Linked DNA regions of Homo sapiens: regions 1, 2 and 4 are each linked to region 3. The links are contacts of gene promoters, found by promoter capture Hi-C in human tissues and cell types (Jung and others, 2019). All regions are on one chromosome and are shown on one strand. The core of a region is centred on a gene start or on the middle of the fragment in contact, and the rest is flanking DNA. Distances in the headings are between cores, read along the strand shown.

Evidence for each region. The method cuts DNA at HindIII sites, captures the fragments that hold promoters and counts their contacts. A contact is called where the count stands out against the background at its distance.
Region 1: a fragment that was not itself captured here is called in contact with the fragment with the promoter of HAUS3 in region 3 in 1 of the 25 tissues and cell types used here (hippocampus).
Region 2: a contact is called between the fragment with the promoter of SH3BP2 here and the fragment with the promoter of HAUS3 in region 3, in 3 of the 25 tissues and cell types used here (dorsolateral prefrontal cortex, heart left ventricle and lymphoblastoid cells).
Region 4: a contact is called between the fragment with the promoter of TNIP2 here and the fragment with the promoter of HAUS3 in region 3, in 5 of the 25 tissues and cell types used here (IMR-90 fibroblasts, liver, lymphoblastoid cells and 2 more).

The regions. Positions count from the first base shown.
Region 1 is chr4:1,697,496-1,700,195 of GRCh38, forward strand. SLBP (stem-loop histone mRNA binding protein) reads right to left here. Exons shown (of 8, transcript NM_006527.4): 4 at 2,516-2,575; 5 at 2,069-2,206. Among named protein-coding and RNA genes, the nearest start is that of SLBP, 13 kb to the right of the region's middle. The HindIII fragment of the contact is 4,940 bases long and covers 1-2,700 here.
Region 2 is chr4:2,791,827-2,794,526 of GRCh38, forward strand. It overlaps SH3BP2 (SH3 domain binding protein 2), which reads left to right and starts at 1,259. Exons shown (of 13, transcript NM_001122681.2): 1 at 1,259-1,312. RefSeq lists a silencer at 977-1,326. The HindIII fragment of the contact is 44,064 bases long and covers 1-2,700 here.
Region 3 is chr4:2,240,859-2,243,558 of GRCh38, forward strand. HAUS3 (HAUS augmin like complex subunit 3) reads right to left here and starts at 1,263. Exons shown (of 6, transcript NM_001303143.2): 1 at 1,193-1,263; 2 at 662-932; 3 at 1-235. The coding sequence starts at 88. POLN (DNA polymerase nu) reads right to left here and starts at 1,263. Exons shown (of 26, transcript NM_181808.4): 1 at 1,193-1,263; 2 at 662-932. It also overlaps the pseudogene COX6B1P5. RefSeq lists enhancers at 446-947, 554-653 and a silencer at 1,334-1,693. The HindIII fragment of the contact is 17,295 bases long and covers 1-2,700 here.
Region 4 is chr4:2,754,958-2,757,657 of GRCh38, forward strand. It overlaps TNIP2 (TNFAIP3 interacting protein 2), which reads right to left and starts at 1,379. Exons shown (of 6, transcript NM_024309.4): 1 at 1,057-1,379. The coding sequence starts at 1,332. RefSeq lists silencers at 922-981, 1,002-1,521, 1,702-1,841. The HindIII fragment of the contact is 11,459 bases long and covers 1-2,700 here.

The sequences.
Region 1 (2,700 bases), core at 112-2,611, 540 kb before region 3:
CTGAGATCCTACAAAATGAACAAATATGTTTAAAAAAATTAAAAAATTAAAAAGCACTATCCGGGCCGGGTGCGGTGGCTCACACCTGTAATCCCAGCACTTTGGGAGGCCGAGGCAGGCAGATCACCCAAAGTCAGGAGTTCGAGACCAGCCTGACCAACATGGAGAAACACCATCTGTACTAAAAATACAAAAAAATTAGCCCAGGCATGGTGGCGCATGCCTGTAATTCCAGCTACTTGGGAGGCTGAGGCAGGAGAATCGCTTGAACCTGGGAGGCGGAGGTTGCGGTGAGCCAAGATTGCACCATTGTACTCCAGCCTGGACTAGAGTGAAACTCGGTCTCAAAAAAATCACTATCCGCTGGGCACAGTGGCTCACGCTTGTAATCACAGTACTTTGGGAGGACTACTTGAGGCCAGGAGTTCAAGACCAGCCTGGGCGACATAGGGAGACTCCCATCTCTATAAAAATTTAAAAGTTTAGCCAGGTGTGGCGGCATGCACCGCTGGTCCCAGCTACTCAGGAGGTTGAGGTAGGAGGATTGCTTGAGGCCAGGAGTTAAGACTACAGTGAGCCATGATGGTTGGGCGTGGTGGCTCACCCCTGTAATCCCAGCACTGTGGGAGGCAGAGACAGACGGATCACGAGATCAGCAGTGCGAGACCAGCCTGGCCAATATGGTAAAACCCCATCTCTACTGAAAATACGAAAATTAACCAAGTGTGGTGGCAGGCGCCTGTGGAGGCTGAGGCAGGAGAATCGCTTGAACCCGAGAGGTGGAGTTGAAATTGCGCCACTGCACTCCAGCCTGGGCAACAGAGCAAGATTCCGTCTCAAAAAAATGAATACACAGTGAGACATGATATAACACTGCACTTCAGCCTAGGTAACAGCAAGACTCGGTCAGGAGGGAAAAAAAAAAGCACCATCACATTGAATCTTACTATTCCTTTGCCAGCTATGTTCCAAAAAAGTAAAAAAAAAAAAAAAAAATTGTTTTTTTTGAGATGGAGTCTTGCTCTGTGACCCAGGCTGGAGTGCAGTGGTGCAATCTCGGCTCACTGCAACCTCCTCCTCCCAGGTTCAAGTGATTCTCCTGCCTCAGCCTCCCGAGTAGCTGGGACTACAAATGTGTGCCACCACGCCCAGCAAATTTCTTGTATTTTTAGTAGAGACGGGGTTCCACCGTGTTAGCCAGGGTGGTCTCGATCTCCTGACCTCATGATCCGCACTCCTCGGCCTCCCAAAGTGCTGGGATTACAGGCATGAGCCACTGCACTCAGCCAAAAGTAAAATTTTTTTTTTTAAGAGACAAAGTCTCATACTCTGCAGCCCAGGCTGGAGTGCAGTGGTGTGATTAATGGTTCACTGTAACGTTGAATTCCTGGGCTGAAGCAGTTCTCCCACCTGTCTCCCAAGTAGCTGGGACTACAGGTGCAAACCACCACACCTGGCTAATTTTTAAATTTTTTGTAGAGATGAGGTCTCCTTATATTGCCCAGGCTAGTCTCCTGGCCTCAAGCAGTCCTCTCGGCCTCCCAAAGTGCTGGAATTACAAGCATGAGCCATTGCACCTGGCCCAGAAATGTAAATTTCAACCCCAATCCTGCCAAAAAGTTCAGGAAAACACTAAAGCTTTCTTTATATCCTTCTGTGTCTGTGTGTTTGAGGGACCAGGATAGGCAAGAACATGCTGCTTAAAGACAATAGGGCAATGCCAATTTTTTTTTCTCCAATTAGAATTTTACAATATTTAACTTGAACTTCATTTTTCCCCATCATGTATTTTAATAAGCTTACATCTATGATTGCTGACTCCTAAGAAATAAAATGTTATCTAACATTCAAAATTATATGAAAATGATTTTTAAAATCTTCATGTCTTTAGTTTTCCAGTTGCCAATCCATTCTTTATTTACGTCATAAGCCCCAGTAAGTCCCTATTAAATAGCTCTTAGCAGGTGTGAACTATCCCCAGCATCATTTGTACTACCCAATCTAAGCAACTCTTTAGAAACGCAATGCCACACAGCTTGTTCAAGACATGCCACTGAAACAAGACTACCTTGGGACTTCTTTAATATAACGATCGTAGGCAATTGTGTTCTTCCCATAGTTGATCTGCTTCTGTCTCCTCATTAGGACACTTTCATCTGTCTCAAAGTCAGCCGGCACAGTAGACATAGACTCCTTTGAATCAGAACTGAAAAAACAACAGATTAACAGAATAAGCCCTGCAATTAAGATCACCATGTATGTAAGGTAAGCCAAGAAAATGTCAAAACACAATAATGGAAGATTCACTCCAGATTCCCAACCATATGAATCCTAAATAGTCCGGAGACTGCATGTATGGGAATTTAGTACACAACAGATACAGTATTTCAAATTAGTGAAAAAGGTATTAATAAATGCTACTGCGACAGTCAGCATTTCTGACAGTCACAATTTTTTTTTTTTAACAAATTACAGGTCTATCAAATTAGAAAAGAAACATTTACACAGCCTTTACCTTCCTGATGATGATTTTCTCTCTCTTCCAAAGTCATTGATGAGGAGTTTCCTTTTATATCTGAGGGCAAAATAAATATTGCTGTTTTTAAAAAAGATATAAAAATAAAGCAGCCAGGTCTGAGGAAGCTCCACCCTGATGCCCGCAGGCACACCATCCTATGCAATCCAGAAGCTCCGTGGGCC
Region 2 (2,700 bases), core at 9-2,508, 550 kb after region 3:
CCCACACTCGGTCCAGCTGCAACCCTGAGAACCCGCTTGGTTTGGCTGTGTCTCCTGGAGGCCCTCAGGTATTTCAACCTGTAGGACCCAAACCCAGTCCTTCACCTGCTGCAGGGCCAGCCCTGGACACCCCTGCCCCTGCCTGATTTGGAGCAGCCAATTCAGCCCCTGTCATTGGACTCTGGCCTCTTGTGCTCAGTACAGAGGGTCAGACCTTGGCCGCCTGCCTGGACAGGGCCAGGTCACCACCACCCACCCCCAGCTCCCTTGGGTTCCCAGCAAGATCCTGTCCTTCCTCTACTCACAGCTTCCTGGGCTCTGGGACCTGGGGTCCAGTCCCCACTCCTCATGGGGAGGAGTCCCCCCACGCCCCAAGCAGTTGACTCCCGCACTGGTGGGGGGTCCGCTCGCCCTCAAGCTCTGCAGGCCCAGCTTGGTCTCCCCAGCCTCTTCACTTTCTCCACGGCTCCCTCCACCTACCTGGCCCTGAGAGCTCCCCAGGGAAGCCATTTCCTCCCAGGAAGCCCCTCCTCTTCTCGCCCCTGCCCTTACACCAAGGCATCTGGGCCTACTCTTAGGGAGAGGGTGATGGTGGAGGAAAGGGAGCCTCAGAGGAGGCCAAGTGTAAAGCACCCGGTCTCCTGTGCCTCCCAGCCCCAAGACGACCTCTGGGCCACCGGAGTCCAGACCTGGTCCAAGAGGCGAGGTCCCCCTGGGAAGTGCCTGAAAAGTACCCTGGAGGACATTTGGAAACAAAGACAAGGTTTCCTGGTGCCCAGCAAGCCCTCCCCCACCTCCCCTGCTCCTGTCTTGGCCAGGGCCTAAGTCGCACTCACGGGGCAGGGGTGGGGCCGCCCAGGATCAGGACCACGGGGCTGGGGGGGTGGACAGCGCCCTTTCCACCTGGGTCGCTGGGCACTGGGGTGTCACTGGGAGGGACACGCAGGAGGGACAGACACGCTACCTCACTCACGGGCGAGAACTAAGCACCTACTGTGGACCCGGCGTCTAGGCCCGCGACAACGCCAGTCTTCGCCCCCCAGGGGCCTCGTCCCGGGGCCGCGGAGGCCACGTGCAGTTCCCCGCCCACCCTGAGGTACCGGCCCCGCCCCACGCCCAGCTCGGACCTCCAGGATTGCGGGACCCGCCGGGGAGGGGCGGGGCCGGGGCGGGGCCAGGAGGAGGGCGGACTGGGCGGGCGCGGGCGGGACGGAGCTGCGGCGGCGGCGGGTCCCGCGGGCGGGAGCGCCTGGCGGCCGAGTCAAGCCGCCGCCTCGACCCAGGGCCCGCGGGCCAGGAGAGCGCTCGGCGGGTAAGCCTCGGCGGCGGGTCTCGGCGGGTCTCGGGGGTCTCGCGGGGGGGCGGTCTCCGCGTCTGGAAGGGGCTCGGCGGGCCTTGGCGGTCTGGGGGCTCTCGGCGGGTCTCGGGGGTCTCGGGGGAGTCTCGGGGTCCCGACAGGTCTCGGCGGGTCTCGGGGGTCTCGGGGGAGTCTCCGGGGAGTCTCAGGGGTCCCGGCAGGTCTTGGCAGGTCTCGGGGGAGTCTCAGGGTCCCGGCAGGTATGGGCGGGTGTCGGGGGTCTCGGGTGCGCAGCAGCCTCCCCCGGGCCCCGGGGCCTCCGTGTCCTTGCCAAAGGACGCACGGGGCCTGGGCACGGCGGGCAGTGCCCGAGGGAGCGCGGCTTCGGGGCGGGGGCCGGGTGTCCCTTGCCGGGGGCTCAGGGGTGGGAGGCGGTGCGACGCGTCTGTTTCGCACCCCTCGCGCCCCTCTGGCCCCGCGGCGGGGCCCCTTTACGCGACCCTCCCCACAAGACTCAAAGGCTGCGGCGGGCACTCGCTCTCCGCCCTTCCCGGAATCCAAACTTCCCTCTGCAGCGGCCGCGCTTCACGGAGGGCAAGAAAAGCCGCCCACTGGCGCTGATTCACACTGAAGTGTGAGTGACTGATAGCCGGGCGTCTGAGACTCTCATGGGCAACAGGGAATCTCAGGGGTGGCAGAGGGACTGGAGGAGTTAGGGGGCGGGGACAGCCCCTTCCACCTGTACGCTGGCCTCCCTGCAGCCCAGCACTTTCCCGCTGCTCTGGGCCTCGGCTCCCTGGGGGTATTGAGGGCCTGAGCCCTGCTGTGGGGAGCCTTCTGCTGGTGCTCCTTTCCGTGAGCACCTCCTATCCCCTCTCTGTGCCTCAGTTTGCTCATCTGTTGACACTGGGGACAGCTGTGCCTCCTGGTCTAGTGGCCACACTTAAGTCCTTCGAATTGGCTGTGGCCAGGGGCGGGTACTCCGTGTGGGCTGCTGGGGTGGACAGCCTGCCTGGATGACATGTGTGTGGCCTTGCAGGTGACATGGGCCGGTGATGCAATGTGTAGAATTGTTTCCACAACCGCCTGAAGGCAGGGCCCACAGCCTCCTCCTTGCCGAAGCAAGCCTCTGGGTTCAGGTCAGCCCTGCACCAACTCCATGAGCCTGGACAAGCTCCTGCCCTCACTGGCTCAGGCCCTGTGGGACCAGAGGAGGGGCTGGGCTCCACCCCCTCCTGGTTCTTCCCACTCTGTCCACTGTCTCCTCTACGTAGACACCGTCGAAGGGCCCTCTTGGAGCCCAACCTCAGGGCCCCACTCCAGGCACTCCACTCCTGGCAGGACAGGAGGCCTGGGACGAGGGCTGCAAGGGAGTGAGGATTCTGTCTATCCCCTCTCCCTGC
Region 3 (2,700 bases), core at 13-2,512:
ACCAGTCAAAGTCTTCTCCATTAAGATTATCAGCTTTGGGATAACCAATTTTTTTTAATGTTTCCACAAACTCATTTCCACAACTCATGGTTTTAACTACCCCAATTTTGTTGTATCTGATATGGGTTTACGGTGTTGATTTTTAGAAAATAAATCCAAGCAGAAAAAAAGCTACGTTTTATACCAAGTCCACAGAGAAGGGAAAATATATTTTTAGAATCTATAATGATTCCTCCTAGGGGGGAAGAAAACAAGTATTAGACCACAAATATGACGACAGTGTTTTTAAAAAGAAGACACAGACAAATATCACATGATATCCGAGAGCGGGATAAATGACAGGTAGTCGTAGCTGCAATGTTTGATGATGATAAAGAGAAACAGAAACAATTAGGCTAGTTCTCAGAAAACCGCAACAGTAACGAAAAGTAATTAACAAGAAAGTGGATCTATTTGGATCCATTTTATCTTTTTTTCCAAAGATAAAATGGTTTAAAATGCATTACACTTTATAGAGCAGCATTTGTTTTTAATTCAAAATAAATGGATCCAAACAAACCCAAGCCACCAGGAGGCTAGGCAGCCTCTCTTCCCTGCCCTCCGTACGTAAGAAGACGCAAATAAGCATGGCACATCTTCTGAAGATCAACTAAATATTTACCTCAACGTCTCGCCGGGCAAGGCTCCACCTCCAGAGTCCACCACCGCGACGCGGAGAACAGCAGGAGCAGCAGGGAAGCGCGCGGCCACAATTAAGGGTGCTTCGGGCCGGCCTTCAGCCAGCGCTGAGGCAGCCCCGACGCCAGGGCCGCGCGAACCCCAGAGGCAGCGGCAAGCCCCAGGGATCCGCGGCCCCAAGGCCGCGATACACCAGACGCGCCAGCGGCAAAACCTTCCTTCGGAGGGTCACCCAGCTGTGACACCTAAGCACGCTGACAAAACAAACGCACAAGCCCACCGAATCGCCGTCGACACCGAGCTGCAGAAGACGGGGGTGACAGGCCCCGCACAGCCCCCGCCCCAGCTCCTCGCCCAGCGGACCGGGCCCTGATCCCCGGGCAGCTGCTGGAGCACCTGGAAGGAGCCCCCAGGAGCGCAGGAAAAAAAAGAGGCACCTGGGTGCAGACGGGGATCGCGGCCACTCCTCCAGCCCCACACCCCTGCGCCCAGAACCGAGGCCCGCGTCAGTCACCTCAGGAAGTTCCGCTTGCTTCTCGCAGGAGCCCGCCGCCACCGCCCTCCGTGCCCCGCGCGCCTCGCACTGCCTCACGGGAGCGCCTGGACGCGCGCAAGCGCACAAGGCGACGGCGTGGTCGTGGGGGATGACTGTTTGCGCAGGCGTAGTGTCAAAAGAGGCGGAGTCGGCGAGGCTGGACTATGGGGTGGAGCTGAGCAGGCGGCGCTCGGCCCCCGGCCGCTGCGGGCATCCTGCCTCCTGGGCGGGGCGCAGGGCAGAGAGAGGCGGGGTCTGGGCCGGGAAGGGCGGGGACAGGGCCTGGACAGGGGCGGGGCCTGGGCAGGGGGCGGAGCCTGGGCAATGAATGGGGTGCAGAGGGGTGCAGAGGGGTGCGGTGGGGCGCCCTCTGGGGAGCTGAAGCTGCGGGCCTGCTCTCAACGGAGCCGTCAGTTGTGCTTCAGGCCTGCCCTGCCCCGTACTTCAATCTAGACCCTCTGAAGGCACTTTTGAATGGTACAAAGAGCAGCGCAGGTTGGTGGTTGGGAGACAGGCTGGAGCCCGGCGGTGATAGCGCTCGCCCCCGAGAGAGACGAGTTCCCGGAACATTCACAGCAGCCCGACCAATGCCTGGTACATTTTAAGGGTTAGGGATTGTTCGCTTAGAGTCTTTTACAATGAACTTTATTTTGCAAAAACACTTAATTTCTAATCCCTCACCAGAACACTATGTAAAAGCTGACTTCTGGCCGGGCGCGGTGGCTCATGCCTGTAATCCCAGCACTTTGGGAGGCCGGGGGGGGGGGGGGGGGGGATCATGAGGTCAGGAGTTCGAGACCAGCCTGGCCAAGATGGTGAAACCCCATCTCTACTAAAAAATACAAAAATTAGCCGGGCGCGGTGGTGGGCGCCTGTAATCCCAGCGACTCGGGAGGCTGAGGCAGGAGAATCGTTTGAACCCAGGAGGTGGAGGTTGCAGTGAGCCGAGATCACGCCACTGCACTCTAGCCTGGGCGACAGAGCAAGACTCCGTCTCAAAAAAAAAAAAAAAAAAAAAGCTGACTTCCTCCACAATTCCCTTTTCAAAATGTTAGAAATAAACGGAATGGCCTGAGTTAAATACATCGATATATTTAACTCAAGGAGGATGGTACACCATTTCCAAAGAGGATGGCAGTCAGTGAAAGATGACTGAAACGGGATTGCTAAATTTCATGTGAATCTGGCTGATGCCCTACAGCCCAGTGAAACCAGACCTCTCTATTGGACAGAATTCGTTTGCATCTCTACCAAACAAAAATCCTTTGCCACTCCTCAGTCTTCCACAGGTTAGCAGGGGCTTTGGTCATGGGTAAATATAATAGTACTCCCTCCCTTCAGCGTCAAATGACCCTAAAGGTGGCTTGTTAGACAATGTCCTAGTCCAGGGTGACTAGGTAGAAGTCGTTTGGATAGTTTTTCTTAATATTTTTAAGGAGAGAAATAAGAATGTTCTAAGGCAAATATTGTAATCTGATCGAGTCAAA
Region 4 (2,700 bases), core at 129-2,628, 510 kb after region 3:
CAGGCAATCTGCCCGCCTTGCCTCCGAAAGTACTGGGATTACAGGCGTGAGCCACTGCACCCAGCCTAGGATTTGTGTCCTTTATCAGACACGGGCTGCATTTGCCATTGCTCCCAGCATAGAGTTGAAGCGCCACTAGTGAAAGACACATGCATGGGTGAGGGCTGGAAGGGACTCTAGAACACAATATGAGTACACGACCTTGGACCCAAGACACACATGTGTGCGTACACACACACACCATACACACCCCTCAGAATGTGTCTCCCGCACACACACCTCAAAACACCCCTAAGAACCAACCGGAACATACACACTACACAATACACACAGAATACACACAGCATACACACACCCCCCTCGGAATGTGTTCCCACACACGAACCTCAAAATACCCCTAAGAGCCCACCTGAACATACACCACACACACACAGAACCCAAGAACTGCACCAACCCCCCTCCTCAGAACCCAGTGCCTCCTCACCATCCCCCAGGACCCAGTGCCCTCCCAACCCCCCAGGATCCAGCATTCGCTTATCCCCTTCAGAACCTTGCACCCTCACCCCGCAGGACCCAGAGCCCCCTCACCTCCACCAGCACCTGGTGACGCCTCAAACCCCCCAGGACCCAGCACACCTCAGCCCGTGGTGTCCCCTTATCCCACTCAGGACCTGGTCCCCCTCTCTCCCCTAGGACCCAGGGTCCCCTCACCCCCCAGAAGCTGTTGCCCTATCACCCCCAGGACCCGACGGCCCCTTACCCCCAGGACCTAGTGTCCCTCAACCCCAGGACCCGGCACCCCCTCAACCCCCAGGACCTGATGCTCCCCCAACCCCTCAGGAGCCGGGGCCCCCTCACCCCCAGGACCCGGCACCCCCTCAACTCCCAGGACCTGGTGCTCCCCCAACCCCTCAGGACCCGAGGCCAACTCAACCCCAGGACCCAGTACCCCCTCAACCCCTCAGGACCCGGGGCCCGCTCGCTCACCCACCCAGGACCCGGCGGCCGCCACACGCACTCTCGCTCCCGCAGCTCCTCTGGTACCCGCCCTCGTACCTGGCGCATCTGGGCCTCGGCGGCGCCGCCCTCCTGCCTTCGCAGCTGCTCCCGGAAGCGCGCAACCTGCTCCAGCAGCGCGTCCACTAGGGACGGCGCGGCGTCCCCCTCCAGCGCGGCCAGGCGGGCGCGGAGGCGAGCGATGAGGGCGTCGCGGGCAGCGAGCTGGTCCTGCAGGCGGCGCAGCCGCTGTCCGGCCTCGTGGTACAGGGTGCAGAGCGCGGCAGCTGCGCGCGGGGCCTCCTCCCAGCCGCCCGACCCCGGGTCCCGGGACATGGCTGTAGGCCCGCCCGGGAGGCCGCGCGGCCGCCGGCAACTTCCGCGCCCGGGCCCCGCCGGCTGCCGCCCTTCCCGGAACTTTCCCCGGTGCGCCCCGCCCACCCACAACAGCCCGGCCCCGCCCTCCCCCACGCAGCCCCGCCCCCCGCGCAGCCCCGCCCTTCCCCGCGCAGCCCCGCCCGACGGCAGCCCGCCCAGCCCCTTCTCGCCCGGCCCCACCCCTCCCACCGCCTACAGCCCGGCCCCGCCCCTGCCGTCCGCACCCGTCCGGGAGAGTTGGCCTGGCCCCCGAGGCTGTCCACACCCCAGCTGGTGCTGGGCTTATTCCAGTGGCCCCAAACATCCGCCTCTGAGGAGTTGTCGGAGAGTCGAACTCAGCCCAGGAGTTTGGGGATTCATCAGCCTCTGATGGAAAGGAAGGGCTTAACGACAACCCCCAAGCTCTGGAGCTAAGTGTGGGTCTGAATCTCCCCGCGAGGGTCCAGGCCTTGCGGCCACAGCAGCAACAGAAGCTCCAGGAGCTGAGCTCGCAGCGCACCAAGCACGTGGCATGTGTTCCGTCACCTGGGGACACTGAGCCCAGAAAGAGCTCCAACCCCCTGCCCCGCACGCCGCTTTCTTTTTTCTTTCCTTTTTTTTCTTCTTTTTGAGACGGAGTTTCGCTCTGTTGCCCAGGCTGGAGTGTAATGGCGCGATCTCGGCTCACTACAACCTCCGCCTCCCAGTTTCAAGCGATTCTCCTGCCTCAGCCTCCTGAGTAGCTGGGATTACAGGCGCCCGCCACCATGCCCTGCTAATTTTTTGGTATTATTAGTAGAGATGGTGTTTCACCATGTTGGCCAGGCTGGTCTTGAACTCCTGACCTCAGGTAGATCCACCGGCCTCAGCCTCCCAAAGTGCTGGGATTACAGGCGTCAGCCACTGCAGACGCTGCTTTGTAAGGTGGCTAGTATGGGCCCACGGGACAACCTTCCTGCTAGATGCTGTTCTTATATAGCAGAAGCAGCAGGAAACCAGCCCCTTCCCACCCTTTCGCTTTTCCATCCCTTTCCTTCCCCAAAATTCCCAGACAAACGCTAGTGTTTTTCCACAGCCCAGTCTTCCCCACAATGATGCCCAAGCACACATGGGGTCTTTCCAAGGTTCCCTACTCAGGATAGGGCAGGGGTCTTCCCTGTGTGTGCACTTGCCCACAGGCTCCGCCCCTGAGCAGCTTCTTGACTTTCTTCCCTTATGTGATCCACAGCCAAGCCTGAGCTGAGCCTGGGAAAACACAAGCTTGTAGAATCAGACAAGCCTATAAGCAAAGCCAGAGCCACCCAAGTGCTTATGGCCCGGACATTGGGCTACACAGGCCTGGCTTTG